Linked DNA regions of Homo sapiens: region 2 is linked to region 1. The links are contacts of gene promoters, found by promoter capture Hi-C in human tissues and cell types (Jung and others, 2019). All regions are on one chromosome and are shown on one strand. Each heading gives the region's core, a stretch centred on a gene start or on the middle of the fragment in contact. The rest is flanking DNA. Distances are from core to core; before and after follow the strand shown. Region 1 holds the start of MPV17 (mitochondrial inner membrane protein MPV17). Region 2 holds the start of KRTCAP3 (keratinocyte associated protein 3).

The links. Contacts are between HindIII fragments. The study calls those that stand out against the background at their distance.
Region 2: the fragment with the promoter of KRTCAP3 here is called in contact with the fragment with the promoter of MPV17 in region 1 in 1 of the 25 tissues and cell types used here (small bowel).

The regions. Positions count from the first base shown.
Region 1 is chr2:27,320,619-27,324,810 of GRCh38, reverse strand. MPV17 (mitochondrial inner membrane protein MPV17) reads left to right here and starts at 1,714. Exons shown (of 8, transcript NM_002437.5): 1 at 1,714-1,759; 2 at 2,289-2,363. The coding sequence starts at 2,294. RefSeq lists enhancers at 905-1,877, 2,000-2,059, 2,110-2,159, 2,170-2,259, 2,270-2,319 and 3 more. The HindIII fragment of the contact is 20,851 bases long and covers 1-2,019 here.
Region 2 is chr2:27,440,438-27,444,629 of GRCh38, reverse strand. It overlaps KRTCAP3 (keratinocyte associated protein 3), which reads right to left and starts at 2,249. Exons shown (of 7, transcript NM_173853.4): 1 at 2,190-2,249; 2 at 1,867-2,051; 3 at 1,729-1,788; 4 at 1,350-1,556; 5 at 1,098-1,232; 6 at 569-681; 7 at 333-444. The coding sequence starts at 2,217. The coding sequence ends at 574. It overlaps NRBP1 (nuclear receptor binding protein 1), which reads right to left. Exons shown (of 18, transcript NM_013392.4): 12 at 4,122-4,192; 13 at 3,928-3,978; 14 at 3,690-3,825; 15 at 3,450-3,503; 16 at 3,300-3,363; 17 at 3,008-3,063; 18 at 2,371-2,922. The coding sequence ends at 2,818. It overlaps IFT172 (intraflagellar transport 172), which reads left to right. Exons shown (of 48, transcript NM_015662.3): 48 at 109-253. The coding sequence ends at 198. RefSeq lists an enhancer at 1,572-2,114. The HindIII fragment of the contact is 11,668 bases long and covers 1-4,192 here.

The DNA.
Region 1 (4,192 bases), core at 465-2,964:
CAGCCCTGCTTCTGCAACTGAGTCTCAGCCCTAGTCTTGACCTTGTTCTTTTTCTCTAACAAGCCTTTTCTCTTTCTAACCCTCCCTCCCAATATACCCACTTCATACTATCCATTGTTCATACACTTCTCTACCTTTATTCCTCTTCTCATATTCCTCCCTTCGCCAGAGTGTCTTTTTCCACCATCTTCACCTGAGTTCAATTCATCCTTCAAGGTCCCGGCTCAAATTCCACCTTCACCAAAGAGCTTCCCAGTTTTCTCCAGTAAAAAATAGTTTCCCTCCCTTGTGTTCCCAAGGGGGAAGGGAGGAAAAAGGATAAACAAGCATTAAGCACTTGATCCATTTTAGGCACTTCGCATGTGTCACTTGTATGAGGTAGGTATTGCCATTTTACTTAATGATAAAAGAGTTGGAGAGGGTAAGCTGTCTGTAAAAGGTCAAGGTCATATAACTAGTAAGTGGTGGTGCTGGGGATTTGAACTCAGTCTAACTTCAGAATATAACTTTACAGCCTACCACATTTGGTCTCCTATTACATTTACTTTTGTCAGTTCACTCCTCTAGCATGCTGTTTTGCAAATAGCATTTTAGTTAAATGTTTGTGACATTGACTTCTCTTGCTTCCTTACTCTGTTTCTCCAGGATTTGTGGCAGGAGTCTCCCTGCCTTAATCATAAAGGAATTGAGTAAATTGGGGGTGGAGCTGGGCAGGTGGAGAGCCTGAAAGAGTGTGCCTCCTGACGTGTGGGCTCCCTGGAGATAAGTAAAGCCTGCCAGCCTGACAAGTCCATTGCCAGGGATATTGTAGACATTTCCAACGCTCTAGAAAGGATATTGCTCTATATTCACAGACTCTTAGAATGTTAGAGCTGGAAGGGGATTAAGAAATCACCTAGCTTACTGGTTTTCAAACATGCAGTTGTGGGCCCCGTTAAAAATGGGTCTTTTGAGAAGTATATACTTGGAAAAAAAAGTTGGAGAAGCAGCTGTAGTAATGCTGCCCCTCTCATCCCCACACACAAACATCTGAAAAATCCCTAGAACTGAGGAGCCGAGTTTGGAAAGTCAATAGTGTAACCTCCCTCATTTTACAGATGCAGAGCCTTAACATCAAGTCTAGTCATGACCAAGGCTGCACAGCCCGTTAGTTTGGGAGCCAATACCTAATGTCTTCTGAGGTTCTAATTCCAATGCTTTCTGTGGAAGAATCATACATACGCAGTATTTCTTAAGTGGCTGTTTGCGGCAAAGCACTGAAATAGTTGCTATGAGGACGACAAATATGAACGACCCCAGTTTTACCCACTCATGAGCTCACAGTTGAGGCCAGTGAAGAACCTAGAGACAAAACACGCACTTAACTATAACTTATAGTTCCCTAACTACGATTGCTGAGACAAGGATCGTAGTTATGGCCAGTTATGCGGGGAGGGTGGGCTGAACAATGAGACTACCGGATTGAGAGAGGCCCGGGTCTCGCGCGGAGAGAAGGGGCAGGAGGAGGCAGAGGGTCGAACTTAGGTGAGAAATATGGCTGGCGGGCCCCACACCAGGGTCCGGCACAGTCCAGCTGGAAAAGGGGTCTCTCACAGAGTGGGTGGCCGAGTTAGGCCGCTCTCCACGGGTATTCATGGCTCGGTCCACCCCCATTCCTGTCCTGGCTGCGTAATCCGAAGGACGCTGGGAGGAAGGGGCGGGACTTGTGGCGGAAGTTCCTAGGCCAGCCTGTCACGTGGGAGGGAGGCTCGGCGCTCAGGTGAGTGGCGGGTGATCTGCGGTCTCTGGCTTAAAGCGTCGCAAGCCATGAGTGCCCACAAGGTGTGTGGTCATCCTATATCCGGGCAGTGACGGGCCCTATTTTCGGTTTGGAGCTGGACTCAGGAAGGTTACAAACTGGTTCCAACCAAGTCTGAATCTGGAGACGGACCAAGCTATCTTTTGAGGCACCCAAGCTCTGGGTAGAAGCCAGAGCAAAGCTGTCCTCATGAGTGTCTCCGTCGGGAACGGAGGCTTCCAGGTGGTCTGGCTTCAGGAATGAGGTTGGGGTGGCTGGTGGCTGCTACCAGGAGTCCATAGCTTCCCACAGCCTTTCTCTCTTCCCCAATTGTCTAAGGCGACTCCTGCGACAGGAAGCTGTCTGGGAAGCATCCTTCATGTGGCCTCTGCCCCTTTAAGTCACATTGGAAGTGGGAAGGGGAAGGGAGTGGGCACAAGGGAATGTCAGGCGGCTTCTTAGTCGTGGAGAGGGACGGTGGGGGTGACCCCCTCTCCTCTTGGCTTGACAGGAAGCATGGCACTCTGGCGGGCATACCAGCGGGCCCTGGCCGCTCACCCGTGGAAAGTACAGGTCCTGACAGCTGGTGAGTGTCCCTCTAGGACTTGAGTGGGACCAGGGCAGACTGATTTGGAAGCCAGAGGCTTGCCCCACTGCACCACCCTCACTTCCTGTTTCTATTCGGCTCTCTTGAAGGGTTGGCTGTCTTTCATCCTACACTGTCCCCAGTCTGTTTTGGAGGGTGGTCCCCAAGGCTGTTTTTAAGGGGTATGCGTAGTTGGCCAAGCTGTGCAGTAGGGTTTTAGGATTTCAAAGTCCTCAAAAAGCTGAACAGTCAGCCCTGAAGGATAAAGGCATTGCCCCAGGAGGCCTCAACTTGGAAAACATTTTACCGTATGCAAAGCACTTTCATATACGTTATGGCATAGGGCCCCCACAAAGGTGTGTGAGCTAGGAGGGTTACTTGAGTCCACATTAGATCACACCTAATAAGTGCTGAATCAAGACTCTTACCCCAGTTTTTCTTGGTATTTTTTATTGTGAAACATACAAAAGAATGATTAAGATGTGTATGTACAGTTTAAATGGCATTAAAACTGAACACTCCTGTGTCAGTAATCAGCTTTGAGACCTCTTGAGTGCCTCTCCGTAATTCACCCAAAATTTCCTGAGTTTTGTTTATATCGTTCATTTGCTTTTGTTATCATTTACTGCCTAAATATGTATCTCCAAGGTTAGTATATTGGTATCTGATCACTCCATCCTGATCCATTTGGAGTGATCAGATACCAGTCACTCCAAATGCAGTGATTGAGTACTAACCTCACAGAGGTAATGCAGTGACCTACCTGCATTTGTTACCATCTTCATTTTGCAAGTTAGCTAATGTAAGAGGATGGCATGAAGATAAGTAAGTCTTAGAGGGGGAATGTCAGAAGGCCTTAGAACATTGGGGTGCAAAGAGTGATCACATTAAGATGAGGTCTTGCCCATGTTTAGAGAAGGGGAACAGGATTCTAGTGATGACTGGCCTTCTGAGAAGAGGACTATTGGAAGGGATTGGGGGCTACTGAAGGCCAGAGTGGAACAGGGATCCTGTGACCAGAACAGCCCTGCATCGGCACAGAAACTTAACTGCATGAATGGCCAGGAGATGGATTCTTTGGCCCTTCCCTGGGCCCCTCTCCAGTCTCCGGTGCCCAACCACCTCTTGTCCTGTCCTCAGCGTCCGTCAGCCTGTATGACTCACCTGGCTACGTGTGTGGTGACTCATGCTGGACAGTGTGGCTATGATGGGAACTGACACGCTGGGCCCTTTGCCCAGGCTCAGATTCCCTCAGGGCCCATAACTGCCAGATGGAAGATTCCCCCTTGTGGTCATCAAGAATAGGGAGGGAAAGAGTCCTTATATTTCCCTACCTGAGGCATCTGCAGCTGACAAGGGCAGGAGCTAGAGCTCCAAGGAGGCCTAGGTGCCGACATGTGGCTGGAGTTCTGGGCTCTTGGTGCTGGAGCCCTTCAGCTCCACAGCCTCAGTCTTCCTGAGGCTATGCTGACGTCCCAGCTCAGCCCTGAAGCAAAATGTAGCCTCCCAGCACTTTTCCCAGACTTTTTCAGACCATCCAGACTTTTCCTTTCCTGCTGTTCACTGTATTTGGATCAAACTACAAATAAAAGGTGGAAGTGGCTTTAGTTCACTGAGCCATTTTTGGACCCCAGCACAGTAGTTCCTAAGGTCCCATGGGATAGCTCATCACACTGGAAAACAGTACAGAGATTTCAGACTTAGAAGACCAGGATTTGAATCTTAAAACCATAGCACCTAGTAGGTGCATTAATCAGGACAAGTCAGTAAGCTTCTTTGAGCCTTAGTTTCCTCTTTTAAAACTTGAGTTTAGGGACTGGGCGCGGTGG
Region 2 (4,192 bases), core at 1,000-3,499, 120 kb before region 1:
TGGGTGGGATTACAGGAAGGCAGATGCAGACCCTGAAGCCTGCGATGGAGCTGATTTTGTATTTCCAGCATTAACAAGTTCCTCTCATGTTCTTCCATTTGCTCACAGACCTCCCACAGCCCAGTGTGCCAGGACGTGCTGAAATTCATCAGTCAGTGGTGTGGAGGGCTCCCCAGCACCAGCTTTTCCTTTCAGTAGTTGGTAGAGCTGAGGAAGAGTTAGGGCCTCTCCCTCATTAAAGTTTTATAAATAATTGAGACCACTGTATTCTTTGATCAAAGTCATTCCCAACACCACACAGTGCCTTTTCCCCAAAAGGAATCATAATCAAGTAGAAGAAAAGAGAAGTTACTTTATTACAATTTGTTATCTCATCCCGAGGTCAGGGCCCCTTGCTTAGTGGGAAAAAAAACCCTTTAGGACTGAGTCTCGGAACAGCACCTGCTGGACAGAGGGGAGAACCAACCCAGGTCAGAGGGGAAAGCAGCATGGCAAGACCTAGACCCAGTTCTAAGAGCACTTCCTTGTCCCCGCTCTTACCCGGGCCACCACCTTCAAGGCCCATTACCTGTCCTAAACCCAACTTCTCTGTGATGCCCGGATTTCTTGATTTTGATCCAGTAGCTGCTCATTTTCCTGCCTTTTACATTTAGGAGATTCAAGCTCTGTCATTTCCTCTAGCTGCAGAAGAAGATAGAGTTAGACACCCTCGCCCTGAATGATAGGTCAGCATCTTTTTTTTGTTTTGTTTTTTGTGACGGAGCCTCACTCTGTTGCCCAGGCTGGAGTGCAGTGGCGTGATCTCGGTTCACTGCAACCTCCGCCTTCCGGGTTCAAGCGATTCTCCTGCCTCAGCCTTCCAAGTAGCTGGGATTACAGGCGCCCACCACCCCACCTAATTTTTTGTATTTTTAGTAGAGACGAGGTTTCACCATGTTGTCCAAGCTGGTCTCAAACTCCTGACCTCAAGTGATCCGCCTGCCTCAGCCTCCCAAAGTGCTGGGATTACAGGTGTGAGCCTCCGCACCCGGCCGGTCAGCATCTTTTCAACACAGCCAGTCTCTGTGGAATGAACCCTTCCTGTTTGCCTTCCTTACCTGCCCCTGAAGTCCGTCCTTCCTGCAGGGCCCAACTCCACGTAGAGTGAGTGCAGCCACACAGCAGTAACCAGATAGAGCAGCCTCCCCTGCAGACATGAGCAAAGAAGGGATCCAGAGAGCCAAGGCTGTATCCTGAAAAGCAAGAAGGATGGGGAGTAGGAGGGAGTAGGGCAAGTGCAGCAAATAGGGGAAATTAAAAGGGCAGGACCAAGGCTTTGTAGACCACAAGAAGGAAGAGAATGTGCTCACATAGATTCTTGTGGGGTCAAAGGGGCAGTCAGTATGTCCCGGCCCCTCATCCAGTGGTACCAGAGGATCCAGCAGTCCTGGGTGGCAGTCAGCAATAAGGCGGCGGCCACCGTTGGCCACAGTGAGTGACACAGCAAGAAGGAGGCCCAGGGAGCAGGCAACGGACAAGAGCAGGTTCACCAGAGCTAGTGCCAGCAGGACCCAGTGCTGGCAGGGACAGGAGATCAGGGTGAGCAGCCTGGGCCTGGCTAACTCTCCCAGTGACTAGACACCCAGTTTCTCTGAGGCTCCTCCAATCTATTGAAAGACCAAGCTCAGTCAGCCCCCATTTCCCTGACTCAAGCCTACTCGTTAAAAGCTCCAGGGAAGTCCCTCTCACCAGTGGAGGGCGAAGAAGGTTCCTGGACGCCAGGAGGGCCACAAGTCCCACGGAAACGCTCTGTGGAAGACACAAAGCCTTTGGCCTGCTGGGCTCTCCGGGAGCCCGGCCCCCGCCCGGGTCGCCTGCCGCGCTCACCAGCAGCCCCGAGCCGACAGAGATGACATTGGCTACGGTGTACTCCGGCGTGACAGCGCCGCGGGGATTGGCCACGTGCCGCAGGACGGTGCCATGCAGCACGGCCCCCAGCAGCAGGTTCACGTGGCCCACCAAGATCAGCGCGAGGCCCACACGCATCAGCCGCCTGGGCCCCCGGGCGGCGTCTGCAAAGCACGGGGGAGGGCAGGGTTGAGTCGGGCGGGGAGGGGAGAGGCGGCTCGCGGCGGGTTAACCGCGGGCAGTAGGACGGGGCAAGGGTAGCCCCAGGGTAAGGAGACGAGACGCCAGGGCCCGGAAGTTACCGAAAGCGCAGAGACTGCAGCGCCTCATCCCGTCCGCCGCGCCAGCCGCAGGGCCGCTGTACCTGGGCCCGGCCCCGCCCCAACCTGGGCCCCGCCTCCGTCCCGGGTCCCCCTCCCACCTGGGCCCCGCCTCCGCCCCGGGCCCGCTCCCCCTGGCGGGAAAGGCGCGAACACACGACGCTTTTAGCAAAAAGTAGACTTTTATTACAGCAGCAACTGAGGCGAATCGAATGGCCCCCCAGGGCCACCACTGCAGCACCACCTTTCTCTCCCGCCCCGGCCGCCCCAGCGGGATTGTAGAATTCGGCTCCCCTAGTGCCCGTGGGCCTCCTTTCCACACAGGCTGGGCGGGAGCCGGCAGATCAGCGACTAGCCCCCAACTAGAAGGCGGCTGCTGAGAAGGCCCAGGCCCACGTCTGTGCAAAACAAGTAAACAAAGTGCAGAGGGGAGGAAGAGAGGGGAGGGGAAAGGATGATGCTCAGAACCAGGGAGCCCCCCCAGCCCTCCTGAATAATAAAGGAGGGAAGGGGCTTCACAGGGTAATACTGACTGGGGGGAAGGGACAGGAGGGCTGCAGCACGTCCAGGGACAGCCACAGCGCAGATCAGGGCCTGGCCCGAGTGAGCTCTAAGAGGAGACGGTGACAGCGGCTGAGTTGAGGGTACTGTTCCTGGCAAAATTGAACTTGTTCAAGGTCTCTTCTAGCAGAGAAGTCAACCGGCTCTGGTCAGCCTGGGGGAGAAGAGCTCAGTAAGATGGGGGCTGAGAGAAGAGAAGGCATGGGGGCAGCCAGGGCAGATGAAGGCAGAAACCTCACCTCACTAATGAAGCCCAGCTGCACCAGCTCAGCCGCCAACTCGGGGATATTCTCATCTGACAAAGAAACAGGAGGGGGTGAGTACAGTACGGGACTGAGGGACCTGGGGCCCTTCAGACAGCCCCACTAGGGCTAAACTGTCAGTCAGATCCACCCACTGCTTTAGGGTCTAAGATAGTCATTCTATGTGAGTCAATGTGTTACTGCCTTGTCACCTCCCCCACCCCTGAATATGTCCCTAAAAGATAAGGCTCATAGACTCTCCATCCTCTGAGGGAAAGGAGAGACTCACTTGGCATCAGGTCACAGCTCAGGTGCCGGTTCAGTTTGTCCTCCAACTTCAGCAGAAGTGTCAGCTGGAGAATAGGACAGTCAGAAAATGAGACTTTTCTTCCCTACCCTCTGGCTACTAGCCCTGCGCAACCCTAGCCCTGAGCCTTACGTGGTGTTTGACTCCCTCCTCCACCGACTCAATGTTGCACTGCATCAGCACCACCTAGGGAGGGAAGAGAGGGTCACTCTAGAGACCTGTCCATAAAAAACCCAATACCTAGACGTCTTTCGAGCCCATAGGGCATGGCTGCTAGGGAGCATTTTCTCTAAAGGATAGAGCCTTATTTGAGATGTCCTCTCTCCCTTCCACCACAACCATGGAGACAATCCACACCCACACAGCCCCCACCTTGCGAGTCTCCACCTCAGCTGGTTCAGGTGTCGGAGTCTTGACAGAGGGGGGCACGACAGGTGATGTCACCTCCTCCTGCTGTGGCTGCTGGGGCCGAGGCAGCCCAAAGGCTGTCAGAGGATAGATCCCATTCCTGGAGGGAGATGAAGACAGGTCACATGGGCTCTGTGAACGCCTTAGGATACCCAACCCCGCCTGCTTCCTCAAGAAAGCCTGCTTCTCACTCTGCTCTCACCTGACATCTTCAAGGAATTTATCTAATTCCAGAGCTGGTGACTGAGAGTACCTGGACGAGAAAAGAGAAAGGAGATGGAAGGAAAGAAACAAGCAAAATAGCAAATTCAAGCATTCCCAGAGAATGGACAGTTTACAGAGCCTCAAGAGTGGTCGTGACCAATCTGCCCCTTTCAGACCCTCTCAGTTACTCACAAAGTCTGAACTGGTTCTCTTCCTGGTCCTGCAGGGATTTCAGCCAGTACGGCACTAGTATCCATGTTTTT